Regions from separate parts of the Homo sapiens genome. Here all the other regions are linked to region 3. The links are contacts of gene promoters, found by promoter capture Hi-C in human tissues and cell types (Jung and others, 2019). All regions are on one chromosome and are shown on one strand. The core of a region is centred on a gene start or on the middle of the fragment in contact, and the rest is flanking DNA. Distances in the headings are between cores, read along the strand shown.

What was found. The method cuts DNA at HindIII sites, captures the fragments that hold promoters and counts their contacts. A contact is called where the count stands out against the background at its distance.
Region 1: a contact is called between a fragment that was not itself captured here and the fragment with the promoter of COL5A2 in region 3, in 1 of the 25 tissues and cell types used here (IMR-90 fibroblasts).
Region 2: a contact is called between a fragment that was not itself captured here and the fragment with the promoter of COL5A2 in region 3, in 5 of the 25 tissues and cell types used here (H1 embryonic stem cells, aorta, pancreas and 2 more).

The regions. Positions count from the first base shown.
Region 1 is chr2:189,033,533-189,036,232 of GRCh38, forward strand. It overlaps COL5A2 (collagen type V alpha 2 chain), which reads right to left. Exons shown (of 54, transcript NM_000393.5): 53 at 1,384-1,623; 54 at 1-684. The coding sequence ends at 538. Among named protein-coding and RNA genes, the nearest start is that of MIR3606, 39 kb to the left of the region's middle. The HindIII fragment of the contact is 3,993 bases long and covers 1-2,700 here.
Region 2 is chr2:189,318,942-189,321,641 of GRCh38, forward strand. It overlaps a transcript of COL5A2 not described here. Among named protein-coding and RNA genes, the nearest start is that of WDR75, 120 kb to the right of the region's middle. The HindIII fragment of the contact is 3,265 bases long and covers 1-2,700 here.
Region 3 is chr2:189,178,440-189,181,139 of GRCh38, forward strand. It overlaps COL5A2 (collagen type V alpha 2 chain), which reads right to left and starts at 1,322. Exons shown (of 54, transcript NM_000393.5): 1 at 1,069-1,322. The coding sequence starts at 1,165. The HindIII fragment of the contact is 11,142 bases long and covers 1-2,700 here.

The sequences.
Region 1 (2,700 bases), core at 103-2,602, 140 kb before region 3:
TCAAGACATGCATGTAGGTCTCGATCACAAGTTAAACATTTTAAACTCATTTTTAATTGACAATCTTGGAATGAGAGGTCACAAAAGGGCACTAATTTCTATTTTTCAACTGCAGCCAAGCAAAATAAACATGTGTTGTGGCTCTATATACCCCACTCTTTAAGCTACCTGCCAGGAAGAAGAATTTCCTCATAAATACTAAGCAACTTTTTCATTACACTGAAATAAATTGAAGAAAACGGAGATTTATTTATTCAATCAGTTTACTTTCTGCAAAGGTGGTCATTGTCATTGGTCATCTTAAACCTAAACTGTTGTATTGAAAAATATTTAAAATCAATTAAAACTTGAGGATTGTAAGTAAAATAAATATTCTGAAGGATAAGGAGGCCAGGCACTTAAGACCATATATACAATGCTGATGCAGGATCAGCCATTACTTCAAGAGTCTCAGGATCAACTTCAAACAGTCAAAGTTCTTGTGAATGGCGGTGGTCATTGATGGTGGTGCTCATTGTCGATGTGTCTTGGCTTACTTTACACAAAACAAACTGGCCCAATTTCAACGCCGAATTCCTGGTCTGTGCCGCCAACATCCACAGGAGCAAGATCTATGATGGGCAAGCGTGCCACATTCTGTGTTCTATATTCAAAGACAGTCTTGCCCACATTTCCATTCCGCTTCTGAAATTAAATGATGCAATGGGTTAAATGTACATACAATTTTTTCCAAGTATGTTAGACAGCAACCTTCCCAGACACTTTTATAATGTAAAGGCAATGATTTTTAGAGTACTACTTAAAAAAAAGGAATGAAAACATAAAGTGAAATATTAGTGTACTTATGTAACAGAATTTCTTTCATGCTTTAAGTAAATTTCCTTTGTTCTTCTGCAGCTTCCCAAATGGTCACTAGCAACATAAATTATGAAAGCTTTTTTGTTTTTCACAAATGAAACTATAATTCACCATTTAGTATTATTTTCGTTTTATATCTCAATATGCAAGCGGGGAGACTTACTTACAAATTGGTGGAAAAAATAAAGTATCTTGGATTAATTACGCATTTTAGAAATAAGGAATTTTAAGCATGGGACTGAGATTCAGTAAGTTAAATAACTTGGAAAAGAACCAAAGAAAGTCTGCAGAAGAACTGGATCAGATCTTAGGGATCCAGTTCTTTCTTTACTATATGGATTCAAACCTCTATCATGCTTCATGTGCTAACACACACACATTTACCCTAAGGAATGACTATAAACAAACTGCTATTATGCTCATATACAAGGTAAAATTGCCCCCAGTTCTAGTGCTGTAATAGTATTTTTAACAAAAATAATTTTTTTTCCTCAACCAGATCAATGTAGATCAAAAAGTACTTACAGAGCAAGTGTCTTGAAGAACGATATACCGGAATCTAATATTTCCCTCTGCTTTGATATCTAAGTCATTTGCCCCTTTGAGAACCACAGCTTTTTTGAGGTTCTTAGCTTGATCGTCCATGTATCCTACACTGTTTTTACAGATGTAAGTGATGTTCTGGGAGGCTTCTTTTGATAAAAGGCGCAAAAAAGTCATCTGAGTAATGGCTGTATTAGGTGATTGGTGGTCTCCATAAGCGAACTAGAAAAACAAAGAGTCTTTGTCATACACAAGACTGAAGGGTTTCATAATGCCTTACACATGTATAGATAAATATATAAATTGATTTCAGATAAATCAATTTTGAAGAGTATTACTTTAATTCTTGTCATAAAGTAAGCTATTCTAGCTGTACATCTAAACATATCTTAAAATGTCTATGAATACTCAAAAGAACCTCTGTCCTTATTAACCCAAAGGGTAATGAAACCAATAATAACAATAATTCACGAGAACAAGCATAAGTATTTTTAAATCTGCTTCACTCATGTATCAAAAATAACTCATTTTTATTGCTAATTATAATAAAAATTAGAATTAACTAGTAGTATAAAATCTTTTGACCCCAACTATTACACAATTGTAGGAAATACATATTAAAAGTTTTCCATGTGCTAACAAAAATAATCAAAAAAATTTTTCTAGAGACTCTTTCCTACTCACCTTCTACTTTAGCTTTGGTTTCAGCACTCCCATTTGGGGGTTTTATTTTACATATTATATTAGCTAAATTATATTTCAACTATTTATATTTAAAATTTAAAATTTTGTGCTCATTAAATAATGACAGATACTAGCTTATCTTGTATACACCCATAATGTTCTCATAATGTTTATTCTGAACGTGATTTCTAGGAAAAGGTCAGAAGCAGAAGTGAGAAGAAAATTTCAATTAGGCTGCCATAAAGAGATGCAGAATGAAATATTCACATTGCAACAGGCAGTGGAAAGGCCAGACAGTTGTCTGAACACCAGACCATGATAGAAACAGGGTAGACTGGGACTCAGAAAAATATCAATTGACTTCATAACATTACAAAAATGCCTTAAGTTTAAATAATATTAAAAATTTTACAAAATGATTCAATTATTTAGACATTATTATAGTAGTTATCTAATATTAATTTACCATCTATCCCATAGTACAAGAGACCCTAAACTAAGAATTTTATATCCACATGGAAACTATGGAATAAATATTATCACCCTTACTTTAAACTGGCAAAACTGAGTCTCCAAAAAGTTCAGAGACTTTATAAGGCCCCAAAGTCAGTACAA
Region 2 (2,700 bases), core at 192-2,691, 140 kb after region 3:
TCATTATACATCTGCACTTCTCAAAGTATTCATATCCCCAGGATATGTGGTACTGTGCCAAGAGACACTCAGAAGCAAGGCTCAACATAACAGCTGCCAGGGATGTCTATTTTAGACATATTTGAGAAAAAAAAATAACCTTGCCTGTTACTGATTTTATATTAAAACAAACATGGATATGGCATGAAATTAAATGAAATTTTGAATAAATTGTTAAAATAAAACATGACATGTTAAAGAAAGAGACTGCAAGATGGCCGAATAGGAACAGCTCCAGTCTACAGCTCCCAGCGTGAGCGGCGCAGAAGATGGGTGATTTCTGCATTTCCAACTTAGGTACTGGGTTCATCTCACTGGGGCTTGTCAGACAGTAGGTGCAGGACACTGGATGCAGCGCACCAAGCGTGAGCCGAAGCAGGGCGAGGCATCGCCTAATCCGGGAAGTGCAAGGGGTCAGATAATTCCCTTTCATAGCCAAGCAAAGCTGTGACAGACTGCACCTGGAAAATCAGGTCACTCCCACACTAATACTGCGCTTTTCCAATGGTCTTAGCAAACAGCACACCAGGAGATTATATCCCGTGCCTGGCTCGGAGGGTCCCACGCCCACGGAGCCTTGCTCATTGCTAGCATAGCAGTCTGAGATCAAACTGCAAGGCAGCAGCCAGGCTCGGGGAGGGGCGCCCGCCATTGCTGAGGCTTGAGTAGGTAAACAAAGCGACCAGGAAGCTTGAACTGGGTGGAGCCCACTGCAGCTCAAGGAGGCTGGCCTGCTCTGTAGACTCCACCTCTGGGAGCAGGGCGTAGCCGAACAAAAGGCAGCAGAAACCTCTGCAGACTTAAATGTCCCTGTCTGACAGCCTTGAAGAGAGTAGTGGTTCTTCCAGCACAGAGTTTGAGATCTGAGAATGGACAGACTGCATCCTCAAGTGGGTCCCTGACCCCCAGGTAGCCTATCTGGGAGGCACCCCCCCAGTAGGGGCAGACTGACATCTCACATGGCCGGGTACCCCTCTGAGACAAAACCTCCAGAGGAATGATCAGACAGCAACATTTGCTGTTCAGCAATATTCACTGTTCTGCAGCCTCCACTGCTGATATCCAGGCAAACAGGGTCTGGAGTAGAACTCCCGCAAATTCCAACAGACCTGCAGCTGAGGATTCCGACTATTAAAAGGAAAACTAACAAACAGAAAGGACATCCACACCAAAAACCCATCTGTACGTCACCATCATCAAAGACCAAAGGTAGATAAAAAACACAAAGATGGGGATAAAACAGAGCAGAAAAACTGAAAATTCTAAAAATCAGAGCGCCTCTCCTCCTCCAAAGGAATGCAGCTCCTCACCAGCAACAGAACAAAGCTGGACAGAGAATGACTTTGATGAGTTGAGAGAAGAAGGCTTCAGACGATCAAACGTCTCCGAGCTAAAGGGGGAAGTTTGAACCCATTGCAAAGAAGTTAAAAACCTTGAAAAAAGATTACACGAATGGCTAACTAGAATAACCAATGCAGAGAAGTCCTTAAAGGACCTGATGGGGCTGAAAACCATGGCACGAGAACTACGTGACAAATGCACAAGCTTCAGTAGCCGACTCGATCAACTGGAAGAAAGAGTATCAGTGATTGAAGATCAAATGAATGAAATAAAGTGAGAAAAGAAGTTTAGAGAAAAAAGAATAAGAAGAAATCAACAAAGCCTCCAAGAAATATGGGACTATGTGAAAAGACCAAATCTACGTCTGATTGGTGTACCTGAAAGTGATGGGGAGAATGGAACCAAGTTGGAAAACATTCTTCAGGTTATTATCCAGGAGAACTTCCCCAACCTAGCAAGGAAGGCCAACATTCAAATTCAAGAAATACAGAGAACGCCACAAAGATACTCCTCGAGAAGAGCAACTCCAAGACACATAATTGTCAGATTCACCAAAGTTGAAATGAAGGAAAAAATGTTAAGGGCAGCCAGAGAGAAAGGTCGGGTTACCCACACAGGGAAGCCTATCAGACTAACAGTGGATCTCTGGGCAGAAACTCTACAAGCCAGAAGAGAGTGGGGGCCAATATTCAACATTCTTAAAGAAAAGAATTTTCAACCCAGAATTTCATATCCAGCCAAACTAAGCTTCATAAGTGAAGGAGAAATAAAATCCTTTATAGACAAGCAAATGCTGAGAGATTTTATCACCACCAGGCCTGCCCTACAACAGCTCCTGAAGGAAGCACTAAACATGGAGAGGAACAACCAGTACCAGCCACTGCAAAAACATGCCAAATTGTAAAGACCATCGATGCTAGGAGGAAACTGCATCAACTAACGAGTAAAATAACCAGCTAACATAATGATGACAGGATCAAATTCACACATAACAATATTAACTGTAAATGTAAATGGGCTAAATGTTCCAATTAAAAGACACAGACTGGAAAATTGGATAAAGAGTCAAGACCCATCAGTGTGCTGTATTCAGGAAACCCATCTCACGTGCAGAGACACACATAGGCTCAAAATAAAGGGATGGAGGAAGATCTACAAGCAAATGGAAAACAAAAAATGGCAGGGGTTGCAATCCTAGTCTCTGATAAAACAAATTTTAAGCCAACAAAGATCAAAAGAGACAAAGAAGGCCATTACATAAAGGTAAAGGGATCAATTCAACAAGAAGAGCTAACTATCCTAAATATATATGCACCCAAT
Region 3 (2,700 bases), core at 72-2,571:
GTTAATGAATGTCCAAAGTTTTAAAAGCTTGAGTTTGATGTTACATGGTTGAGTTGATGAAAATCTACAGTGGCTTATTTTAAAGGAGTACATGTCTGTATTTGAAATTGCAACCCTCAAGATTAAAGATTTAATAGAGGAATCAATTTAAATATTTTCTTATATACTACAACAGCTATGCATTTTTGCTTAACCATACCATATAACCCAACTGTAACATATGAAAATTGCATAGGAAAAAAATGTGGTCACCAGGCAAGATTTATCTTTAAAAAAAAAAAAAAAAAAAAGCTTGGGTCTAAGGGGTAATGTCCATGCAAATATTCCATGCCAAATAAGATATATACAAGACATGCTGATTTCCTGCCTTCCGCCATCCAACCGGGAACCACCACTGTCCTGTTAATCAAGCCAGTAGGGTGGGAAAATACCACTGTTTAAGAAATCTGGCTTCTATCAGCCTCTGTCATGGAGAAACAAACGAGACTGCCTCCCAGTAAGCAAAAGTGATCACATTTTCACAAATGAAAATGGTAAAAAGAAGTTTAAATTGTTAAAGAGGAAAGAATGAGGAGCCAAAGACAAAGAAAAATCAAAGCTATCAGAGTTGCTGCAGAGGTTTTACTAAACAAAGAATTTTATGAAGCAGCTGAAGTTCAGTACAAAAAGACTCCACCCTACCCAGCTTCTGCCGCGACTTTTCCTTGCTCTGAAAACTCCAGCCCACAGAACAGAGCTCCTCTAACTAAAATGCCTTTAGTGCTCCGTTTTAAGCATTCACTCTTTTCTTATTTTAAACGTCCCACTCTCACACTCAGCCAAAAGGACTTATTGTAGGCTTTCCCAGAAAAATTTAGTAGTGTACTCTCTCCAACGGTGGATCTAGAAGCTCCGGATTTACAAACATCCCAATTGTCTTTCAAGTCGTTTTCCAGGTGCAAATCCGTCAGCCCCCTTCTCAAACTTCAAACCAGAACCTCCTCTTCACGCTCTTCCTGAGGCTTAACATTCCACCTATTTCCCAAACCGTGCAATAAACACTACAAGCAAAGCAAATGGCAAACTCACCATCCTCGTCTTCTTCCTGGGCTTTTATTGAGACAAATTGCCCTAATAAAACAATAAGAATGAGGAGAGGTCTTGCTTCCGCCCAGTTTGCCATCATGTCTAAATATTAGACATGTGGGTTCTCCTGAGAGTGAAAAGTAGATTCTGAGGTTATTGTAGCACCATGAAGTCAGCTGTGGGCTCTTCTTTCAGCACCAGCCCCAGGGCAGCCTCTGCAAACCCCCTTTTTCAGCACCAGCTCCAGCACAGTCTGCGAAAACTTTTTTCAAGCGATGCAGCTTTAAATAGGAAGAATGCTGCCTCCACTTCTTTTCCTGCCCCTTTTCAGCTTGTTCAGGCTCATAACCATCCAGTGTCTGCCAAGCAACGGTCTGATTGATGGTAAACAACCAAATCAGAACACGCGTCTCTGTGCCTGAACTTTCCCTATTTCATTTAACTTTTAAGCATAGATGGGGCTTAATAACAGAAACAAACATTTGTTTCTCTTTTCTTTTATTTTTTAAGAAAGGCTGTTAGAAGAAAAGGGTTCTATTTTCCCCTCCCTAACCCTTCCCCCCAGACACACACCCTTTAACTTTTCCCCTATAAGCTGAAAAAGACATTCCGAAGGAAATCCAGCCTTTTACCCTAGTTTTTTTACATTTAGATAATTCAAGACTCTCTTCTCCACCTTAAATCTTTAAACAATCACATTTTAACCCTTTCTTTTGACTGAATAGGGAGTATTCTTATCCCCTTCTCAGATTCGGTTTCTTTTCCCATACTCTGGAAGGAGATTATTAGAATGTTGCCCAGGTAAAGTCCAGGTTAGAAAACCATTTTGGATAAATGAATTTGTGATACATTGTAATTTGAATTAAGAAAGCATGTCCTTTCCTAATTTCTCCACATCTCTTGTTAAGGGGCCACATCTTCAGGTTCCTCTTGTCCCAGAGAGTTTTACCATGTTGAAAAATAGTCTACTAAGCAGTGCAGAGGAATGGGAAGTACTCTACCTTTGGATGAAAAAAGGCTTGCTTCTGCCTTTTGTGAGTGGTTCTGCCACTCAATAATTTTGTAAATGTGCATATAGTCCTTTATCTCTGTGCACTCCAATTTTCTCATTTGAGAAAAGGGCTTTACCCTGACCAGTGTACAGGGTTTAGTGACACTAAAATGAGTAATGTATTATTAATGAAGCTCCAAATTGCAAAGAGCTACATAAAAGCAGATGGTGGTATTATTAGCTTTAAGCCAGCTTTGCAGGGAATATGATAGCCCCAGTTGAACATGCATTTTAAGGAAAATTATCGATGAACTTTTGTGCCACCCTCACACTTGCCAAGATCTTAATGACCTCAGAGAGTTCTATACAATCTAATGTATTTGCCACCTTGAGTCTCCCTAGAATCAGGATGGATGTTCTATACAATACAAGTGAGTCAATTGTTTATAATTATTGGGCAACAGGTGCCTTGCACTGTGCTAAGCACTGGGCAGAAAGGATGACATAAAAGAAATAAAAGACATACCCATCACCTTCAAGGAACATATGTAGGTGTTGAGAAACTAAATTTACAAGAAATAAAGATATATAAGCCAGAGCATATAAATATGTGAGGGATGCATTAAGCCCGGAGAAAGGAGAAA